Regions from separate parts of the Homo sapiens genome. Here region 2 is linked to region 1. The links are contacts of gene promoters, found by promoter capture Hi-C in human tissues and cell types (Jung and others, 2019). All regions are on one chromosome and are shown on one strand. Each heading gives the region's core, a stretch centred on a gene start or on the middle of the fragment in contact. The rest is flanking DNA. Distances are from core to core; before and after follow the strand shown. Region 1 holds the start of NDUFA12 (NADH:ubiquinone oxidoreductase subunit A12). Region 2 overlaps PLXNC1 (plexin C1).

Evidence for each region. Contacts are between HindIII fragments. The study calls those that stand out against the background at their distance.
Region 2: a contact is called between a fragment that was not itself captured here and the fragment with the promoter of NDUFA12 in region 1, in 1 of the 25 tissues and cell types used here (heart right ventricle).

What each region holds. Positions count from the first base shown.
Region 1 is chr12:95,001,355-95,005,734 of GRCh38, reverse strand. It overlaps NDUFA12 (NADH:ubiquinone oxidoreductase subunit A12), which reads left to right and starts at 2,038. Exons shown (of 4, transcript NM_018838.5): 1 at 2,038-2,140; 2 at 2,914-2,996. The coding sequence starts at 2,055. RefSeq lists enhancers at 1,916-2,315, 1,780-2,407. The HindIII fragment of the contact is 12,199 bases long and covers 1-4,380 here.
Region 2 is chr12:94,253,082-94,257,461 of GRCh38, reverse strand. PLXNC1 (plexin C1) reads right to left here. Exons shown (of 31, transcript NM_005761.3): 16 at 2,574-2,675; 17 at 2,166-2,269. Among named protein-coding and RNA genes, the nearest start is that of PLXNC1-AS1, 79 kb to the right of the region's middle. The HindIII fragment of the contact is 5,652 bases long and covers 1-4,380 here.

The sequences.
Region 1 (4,380 bases), core at 789-3,288:
TATCACCTCATCATCCATTAGGATGCCCACTGTAAAAAACAAATGAACACAGGTTGGGCGTGGTGGTTCACGCCTGTAATCCCAGCACTTTGGGAGGCCAAGGCGGGTGGATCACCTGAGGTCAGGAGTTCAAGACCAGCTTGGCCAACATGGTGAAACCTCGTCTCTACTAAAAATACAAAAATTAGCCGGGGGTGGTGGTGGGCGCCTGTAATCCCAGCTACTCGGGAAGCTGAGGCAGGAGAATCGCTTGAACTTGGGAAGGGGAGGTTGCAGTGAGCCGAGATCGCACCGCTGCACGCCAGCCTGGGCAACAGAGTTAGACTCCGTCTCAGAACAAACAAACAAACATACAAACAAACACAGAAAATATGTAGTGTTGGTGAGGAGGTGGAGAAATTGGAACCTTTGTGCATTGTTGTTAGTAATGTAAAATGGTGATGCTGCCATGGAAAACAGTATGGGGATTCCTATAAAAATAAAAAATAAAATTTCCATATGATCTAGCAATCCACTTCTGGGTATATATCCAAAAGAACTGAAAACAGGATCTTAGAGATATCTGCACACCCGTGTTCACTGCAGCATTATTCACAATAGCCAAGAGGCGGAATCAGCAGAAATGTTTATGGACAGGTAACTGGGTGGCATATACATACAGTGGAATATTATTCAACATTTATAAAAAGAAGAAAATCCTGTCATATACTACACTATGGATGAGCCTTGTGGATATCATGCTAAGTGAAATAAGCCAGGTCCTAAAAGACAAACACCTCATGATTCTACTTATATGAAGTATCTAAAGTAGTTAAACTCTTAGAAACAGAAGTAGAATGGTGGTTGGCAGGGGATGGAGAAAGAGGAAAAAGTTGTTCCATGGATATAAAGTTTCTGTTTTGCAAGAAGAATAAGTTCTAGAGATCTGTTGCGCAACAATGTGCATGTGGTTAACACTACTGTACACTTAAAAATGGTTAAAATGGTAAATTTTATATTTTGTGTTTTTAACCACCACTACCAAAAAAAAAAAAAAAAAGCTAGGGAACTAAATTGTTATTTTGAAAACACACATAAGGGAAAGAATCGGCTGGGTGTGGTGGCTTACACCTGTAATCCCAGCATTTTGAGAGGCTGAGGCAGGAGGATCACTTGAGGCCAGAGTTCAAAACCAACCTGGGCAACATAACAAGATGCCCATCTCTAAAAAAAAAAAAATTAGCCAGGGGTGGTGGCACTTACTTAAATGGGAGGACTGCTTGAGCACAGGAGTTTGAGGCTGCAGTGAGCTATGATCACACCACTGTATTTCAGCCTGGGTGACAGAGAGCCTGTCTCTAAAATTAAAAAACAAAAAAAAAGTAAGAGAATCAAGCACCCATACTGCCTTTCCTACATTAATTGTATCTCAGGAGCCAAATAGTTGAAGGGAGGTTTCTCTTTGTAGAAGAATTGTGGTTAACAAATGAAGTAATATTGAAATTTTTTAGGCTCAAGCGATGCTCCCATCTAAGCCTCAGCCTACCGAGTAGCTGGGACTACGGGCACGCGCCACCACATCCAGCTAATTTTTAATTTTTTTTTTTTTTTTGTAGAGACAGAATTCTCGCTGTGTTGGCGAGGCTGGTCTCGAACTCCTGGGCTCAAACGATCCTCCCTACCCGGCCTCCCAAAGTGCTGGGATTACAACAGTGAGCCACCGCGCCCACCAGAGCCAATTATTTTTAGATGAGGAAACTGAAATTCCCAAAGGGGGAATCCCCGTGTGAGAAAGCCTCGTGTAGGTGAGCTTTCCAGCATATGCCCGCCTTCTAGATTTAACCTCTGAAAACTAAATTTTAAGGTACCTTTGCTTCCAGGGGAAACCAATTCTGCCTACTTGGGAAGCCAGAACATGACCGCGTAGGCAAGACCTAGCTCTGCGCACGCGCAGAGCCACCACGTCTGGCGTTCGCGTGAGAACCTTCTGGGCGTGGGCTTCCTGCGGCTGAGTGGCAGCTTCCATCCGGTGGGTTTTGCTCGGCGCACCCGGGAGGCGGGGCCAGCGAGGCAAGATGGAGTTAGTGCAGGTCCTGAAACGCGGGCTGCAGCAGATCACCGGCCACGGCGGTCTCCGAGGCTATCTACGGGTTTTTTTCAGGTAGGCGGCCAGAGCCATGCTCTTGGCCTCTGGGGCTGGACTTTCGCTGGCTGATTTCTTGGAAGGGGTCCCAGGCTCGGGTCACCTTGGAGAATCCACAGCTCTTGTCAAGGACAACCGCCCCAATCTCTGCCTTGCCACCCCCAGGCTGGTCTCTGTCCCATATATCCCCGATACAAGACCGAAGCTATCTGTAGAGTCAGAGCTGTGACTCGGAGGCAAGGGCATCTGGGCTCCCCTCTTTTCCCACGCCCTGGAGAGTAATGAGGATTACAAGACATTAACTCAGTGACCCTGGTAAAGTTTTTTTCCCTGCACTGCCGTACAGTTCCTTGTCTGTAAGGCGTTGAAGGTAATAATGATGGTCCCTTCTCTTCCTGACATTCACTGATCCCACGAGCAGCATAGTTTCGCAGAAACCTAAATGGAGACCCAGAGTGGAATGAAAGAGCCTGGAGACCTTCGTATCATTGTAAGAAGATGAAATACTTTGGCTTTTTGATTTCCTAAAGGTTTTGCTAATTCCAGTGCCTCCTGGCTGAGGGATAGTAGATACAAGTAGTCCTGTAATCTGAAGAGACTACATTTATATTTTTAGTGTAATTTGAGCACATCAGTTGTCAATTCATCTTTTCCCATCCCCAGCACTTCTTCATTTTGCTAGTTGATGCAGCAGCCCTTGTGTCTGAAAGTTGTTACTCTCACTTTATTTCCGTTTATGTTTTGAACTAAGAATCATTCTAAAATGTCTGTTTTCTTTTGGGTATTCACAGGACAAATGATGCGAAGGTTGGTACATTAGTGGGGGAAGACAAATATGGAAACAAATACTATGAAGACAACAAGCAATTTTTTGGTGAGTGCAGTATTTTTTAGTATGAATAATTGGATTGGGATTGGGATTTGATTTGAGTCTATTTTCCATATTATGCAATGAGCTTTTACAAAACACCTGGAAAAGGATGAAAAACTCAATAGAAAATGAAAAAAGATAATTTACAGAAAAAAGAAAAGTAAACAGCCAATGAAGGTATGGAAAAATGCTCATTCTCACTTGTAACAACAGAAATGCAACTTTAAAAACAGTGTTATATATTTTTCACCTATCAAATTTTGAAGTGTTTTTGTTCTTTTTTTTTTTTTTTTTTTTTTTTTTTGAGATGGAGTCTCTGTCGGCCAGGCTGGAGTGCAGTAGCGCGATCTCGGCTCACTGCAACCTCCACCTCCTGGGTTCCAGCGATTCTCCTGCCTCAGCCTGCCTGAGTAGTTGGGACCACAGGCGGGCGCCACCATGGCCGGCTAATTTTTGTATTTTTTAGTAGAGATGGGGTTTCACCATATTGGCCAGGCTGGTCTTGAACTCCTGACCTCGTGATCCACCCGCCTTGGCCCCCCAAAGTGCTGGGATTACAGGCGTGAGCCACTGCGTCCAGCCTTGAGTATTTTTCAAGCTGATAAATCCCAATGTGGGCAAAACCATATAAATATGTAGGTTAATGCAGTCTTTTTGGAGGGATAATTTGGTAACATTTGTAAAAATTTACATTGCACATATCCTTTGTCTCAGCACTTCCACTTTTAACAATTAATTCGGCTGGGCGCGGTGGCTCACGCCTGTAATCCCAGCACTTTGGGAGGCGGAGGCGGGCGGATCACGAGGTCAGGAGATCGAGAGCATCCTGCCCAACGTGGTGAAACCCAGTCGCTACTAAAAATACAAAAATTAGCTGGATGTGGTGGCGTGTGCCTGTAATCCCAGCTACCTGAGAGGCTGAAGCAGGAGAATCGCTTGAACCAGGGAGTCGGAAGTTGCAGTGAGCCCAGATCCCGCCACTCTACTCCAGTCTGGCAACAGAGCGAGACTCTTATCTCAAAAAAGAATTAATTCTACAAATATTCTTGCAAACCAACATACATCACAGCATTGTTTTATTATATTTTAAAAATTTATTTATTTATTTAATGTTGAGACAGGGTCTCGCTCTGTCACCCAGTCTAGAGTGCAGTGACTCGATCATGGCTCACTACAGCCTCAACTTTCTGGGCTCAAGCTGTCCTCCTACCTCAGCCACCCAAGTAGCTGGGATTACAGGCATGTGTCACCATGCCTGGCTAATTGTTTAAAAAAATTTTTTTTTGGAGAGACGAGGTCTTGCTATGTTTCTTAGGCTGGTCTTGAATTCCTGGGCTCAGGTGATCCTCCCACCTCAGCCTCCCAAAGTGCTGGAATTACAGATGTG
Region 2 (4,380 bases), core at 1,088-3,587, 750 kb after region 1:
CTCCTTTCATTCAAATTTCCCTTTTCTTCAGCTTAGATCCTCTGCCTACCCTTATTTCTTCTCCTACTTTATGCAAAGCAAAGAAGAGTCAATAAAATAAAAAGCAAGGCTTTAAAAGCCAAAACCGACAGGCAGAGCAAAGAACCCTGGCCTCCTTTGAGAACCTACAATCTCCTCTGGATTTTGCCTGTTGCTTTTTTGTAGGTGCTGAACACCCAAATCCTACCCCCACAGCCCCCAACCTCCAGGCCTAGAGGATTCGGCTTCTGATCAATCCATAAAGAGCCTAATTAATACCAGGACTTATCTGCAGCCTGGAATGCATTTAAGTGGCATTGTCTTCTTACGATCTGTTTCCCTGTTCTATCTTTTCTTAATTATTATAAAATCAGTTTTGACTTAGGTCTTCTTGAAAGGGTTCTGACAAATTTATGCATGTTTTTTCCTGGGTTCTCTCCTTTAAACAACTTCTGACTTCAATTTTTATGACTTTCCCAGTTGTTTTTCAAGATTATACACAACACTGAGTTAAATCAGTTTGCCTCCTTTGCAACTATCTCTCTTCTCCTAAAATAAGGTAGCATTGTTCCTGGGATCTTTTTTTTTTTTTTTTTTTTGGAAACACTCAACTTGCAACAGTGTTCCTTTACATTCATTACTCTATCTTGTTCTTGATTACCAAATTTAGAAGATAAGAACATTTCTTTTTTCAGGCCACAGATTATTCAGCACTCAAGGGCAATCATTAACTGTAAAAGCCCACACAGCATTCATGTTGATAGTCAAAAATCTCCGTTATTTTATTGCTTTTAAATTCTTAATGGGGATCTCAGATAGCTCAGAAATAGGACTCGTGATGCAACCTTTGCAGAAGCCCCACACAGTCATCCTGATTCGGGGAATCGAATTCCTTTCCCCAGGCGGTGTTCTGCCATAGAAATGGATGAGGTGGCAAATGGTAGATCTCGGTGCCTCGGTACTCTTGGAGGATAAGTTAAAGGAAACAAACTTCACCAGCACAAAAAGCTGAAGTCTTATTTACAGCCTTCTTGATTTATAACACTAAGGCTTGGACCAAAAAATATGGCAGGTGTTTTATGGAGGCATTCCAACCTCCAGACCCCGCATTACATATCATGGTGTCCTCTTCTAAATTATAGAGAAACTGGAAATTGCTTACTGCATGTGTCTGGGTTTCTGAACTCTAGGCTTCTGGCCAATTGTTCCGGAGAAGCTTCTGGTAAGGTGATACAAACTCTCCTTTGGCCTGGAGAGATTTCAGCCGTTGCTTAGAAGTCTAGATTGAAATGTGATCATTGGTATTGATGTGTTTAAGAGGTTGGGCCTCTATGTGGTCATCATACCGCAAAAAAGAAGGGCAATATGGCAGAGCTGGGGTATCAGGACATGGCAGTGATGATACGCAGGATGAGTGTACCTCGCCAAAGACTTGGGAGGGTAAATGGAGAAGGCTGAGTGAGTGGGTGAGAAAATGGAGGCGTGAGAACATAGGTAAGACCAGCAACCCAAAAGGTTAAGTAGACGACTCCTCAGAGCCCTAGAACAAATGAATTAATCAGTTCGTGCATCTACGTCTACTAAATGAGGACAATACAAACTGACCAGCTAAAGAAAAACTACCAAAGAGAACCATAAGAACTCTACATGGCTAAAAATGCCTGTTTTCAACTCCAATTCCATCCATGTCTACTTTCCTCCCTTTTGACCAGTAGTATTTTTCCTTTCCAATTGAGAAGTAATAGTGAATAATCTAGTCACTGCAATGTAAGTCATGCAGATAAACACAACAAATTGGCTAGCTCACAATTTATTGATTTTTAAATAAACTAGCTCACTTCCCAGCTACACATTCAGTTCTACATTGAGAGTAAAAGAAAGCAAAAATCATCACTCTGAGCTTCTGTCCCTCCTAGGTTTTTGTTACTGGGCAAAGAATAATCACCAGTGACCCATCACTGTTTTATACCCTAATCAATGCAATTAATAATTACCCTCCTCCCTGCTCTGCTCAAACTTAAGCCATTATTTTTGTACCAAGCACATTATAGCTGCCTTGGAAGCAAACACTCGTTTTGACAACAGCAACAAGCACCTTCATTATTATTCAAGACTCAACCTTCGGAATATGATCAATGCTCTTTTACCTCAGGGAAGAAAGTTCTCAGAGCAAAATGTTTGTAGTCAAGGAAGGGAACAGTTCCAAAACTATCAACCACATCCAATTTATCCATCTGCAGCTCAGCAAAGCCTGCAAAACAGAATCCCAAGAGCAATATTTTAACTCAACAAACAATGGATAGGATCTTCTGCTGTTTTGTCTAACACAGAGTATGACCTTGGTTTTCATTAAAGAAGAAACAATAGATAATGACTTGGTTGGCTGCAGAGAAGAGCTGAAATAAAACACAAAGCCAGGCCCAGGCCCTGCCCTTCCGTTGCCTTCTATTATACAAACAGTTCTCATTACTGTGGCCATCTCTATGTAAGGGTAAAAAAATAAAAGTATAAATATAAAAGGCTTGTTTTTCTACAAACACAATTTTGGAGCCTACCGTCACGTATCTCTTTCCGGAGCTCGCTTTCCAGCAATTCTAGTTGTTGACTCTGTTTGCGACTCAGCTCCTTCGATTTGTGCCTGGTCACCCCCACGGCCGCTAAGAGACAGAGATGCTGCATCAGAGGGACATGGTAACTCAAAAACCAAAAATGAAAACAAATAGCAATCTTTACAGTTCTTAAAAACAAAAACAAAAACAAAACAGATAGGGACAGAGAGCAGGAGCTAGAATGAAACTAGAAAATAGCATTAAAAAGCTGGATCTTATAAGAAAATTTCCCAGTGAGGGGTCACTCTGAAGAGGAAGATGCCAAAATGCAGCAGAAAAAAACCAAAACCTTACTCATTTTACAAGTGAAAGCTAAATCAAATAACCTTCACTTGTAACCAAAGATCCCAGTTGGCTGAAACGTAATGAAACAAGCCAAGTTTCTTCCCCACAGCTGCAGCCACTTGCATTGTTCCATTGTTTTTGAATGTTTGTAAGCATCCCTGGAGAAATAAAGTTGTGCTGCAAACGTAGAAAGGAACCGCAGATCCACAGTTGGCTACATGGGCCAAACCTGCATAGAGCTAATGGGGTGACATGATGAGCGAGCCACAAGGAACTCCCATACCTCCATATTGCTTCTAACTGTGCTGCAGAGGCCATAAACCAACCCAGTTTGGTGCTTGGGTTCATGTCCTTGCTCTGCCATTTACTAGCTATGTGACCTGGGTTAAGTTCCTCAGCATCTCTGTGCCTGGCTGCCTTCTCTGTAAGAGTGCCTATCTCACTGTGATGCTGGGAGGATTATAAGAAGTAACTCACAAAAAGCATTAAGAATGTATTGTTTAAAAAAGTATAGGTATTCAACAATCAACCACTGTTATTCTAGGAAGCTTCTCCTCCTTATAGAAATTACAGCCAGGTGCGGGGGCTTACGTCTGTAATTCCAGCTCTTTGAGAGGCTGAGGTGGGAGCATGCCTTGAGGCTAGGGGTTTGAGATCAGCCTGGGCAACAGAGAAAGATATTTTTCTGTCTCTACAAAAAAATAGAAAATTAGATGGGTGCGATGGTGCATGCCTGGAGTCCCAGCTACTTGGGAGGCCGAGGTGGGAGGACCACTTGAGCCCAGGAGGTCAAGGCTGCAGTGAGCCGTGATCGTGCCACTGCACTCAGCCTGGGCAAAAAAGTGAGACCCTTTCTCAAAAAAAAAAAAGAAATTACATAATAGACGGGCTCTGCTACCAATAATGCTGGAGGAAACAAATATGGCTCTTCACTGGACTACTTCATAAAGTCAACAGTCTTAATAACATGCATTGTGCATGTCTAAGAAAGGGTGGAGTATGATGTAGTGATTCCCAAACTTACTTGACCATGGAACCCCTTTTTCCAGGACAGTCACTTGGGACCACTGTTCCTCAGGCCTCAGTTTGAGCAACACTGGCTCATGCACGCAAAGGCTCATTTTTTTCTAGCTCCAGAGACTTGCACAGTTATCAGCAACATAACAGGTGCTCAATGAACATAAGGTAAATAGATGCAGGGATGAATGAGTGAATAAATGAGTGTATAGAAGGAGACACTGGCAACTGCCTGTACTAGCTGTCAAATTTCAGAAAGTCAATACCTATGTTAAATCAGGAAATACAAAGTGCTTTTTTTTTTTTTTTTTTTTTTTTTTTCTGAGACGGAGTCTTGTTCTGTGGCCAGGCGGGAGTGCAGTGGCACGATCTCGGCTCACTGCAACCTCCAGCTCCCGGGTTCAAATGATTTTCCTGCCTCAGCCTCCTGAGTAGCTGGGATTACAGGCAC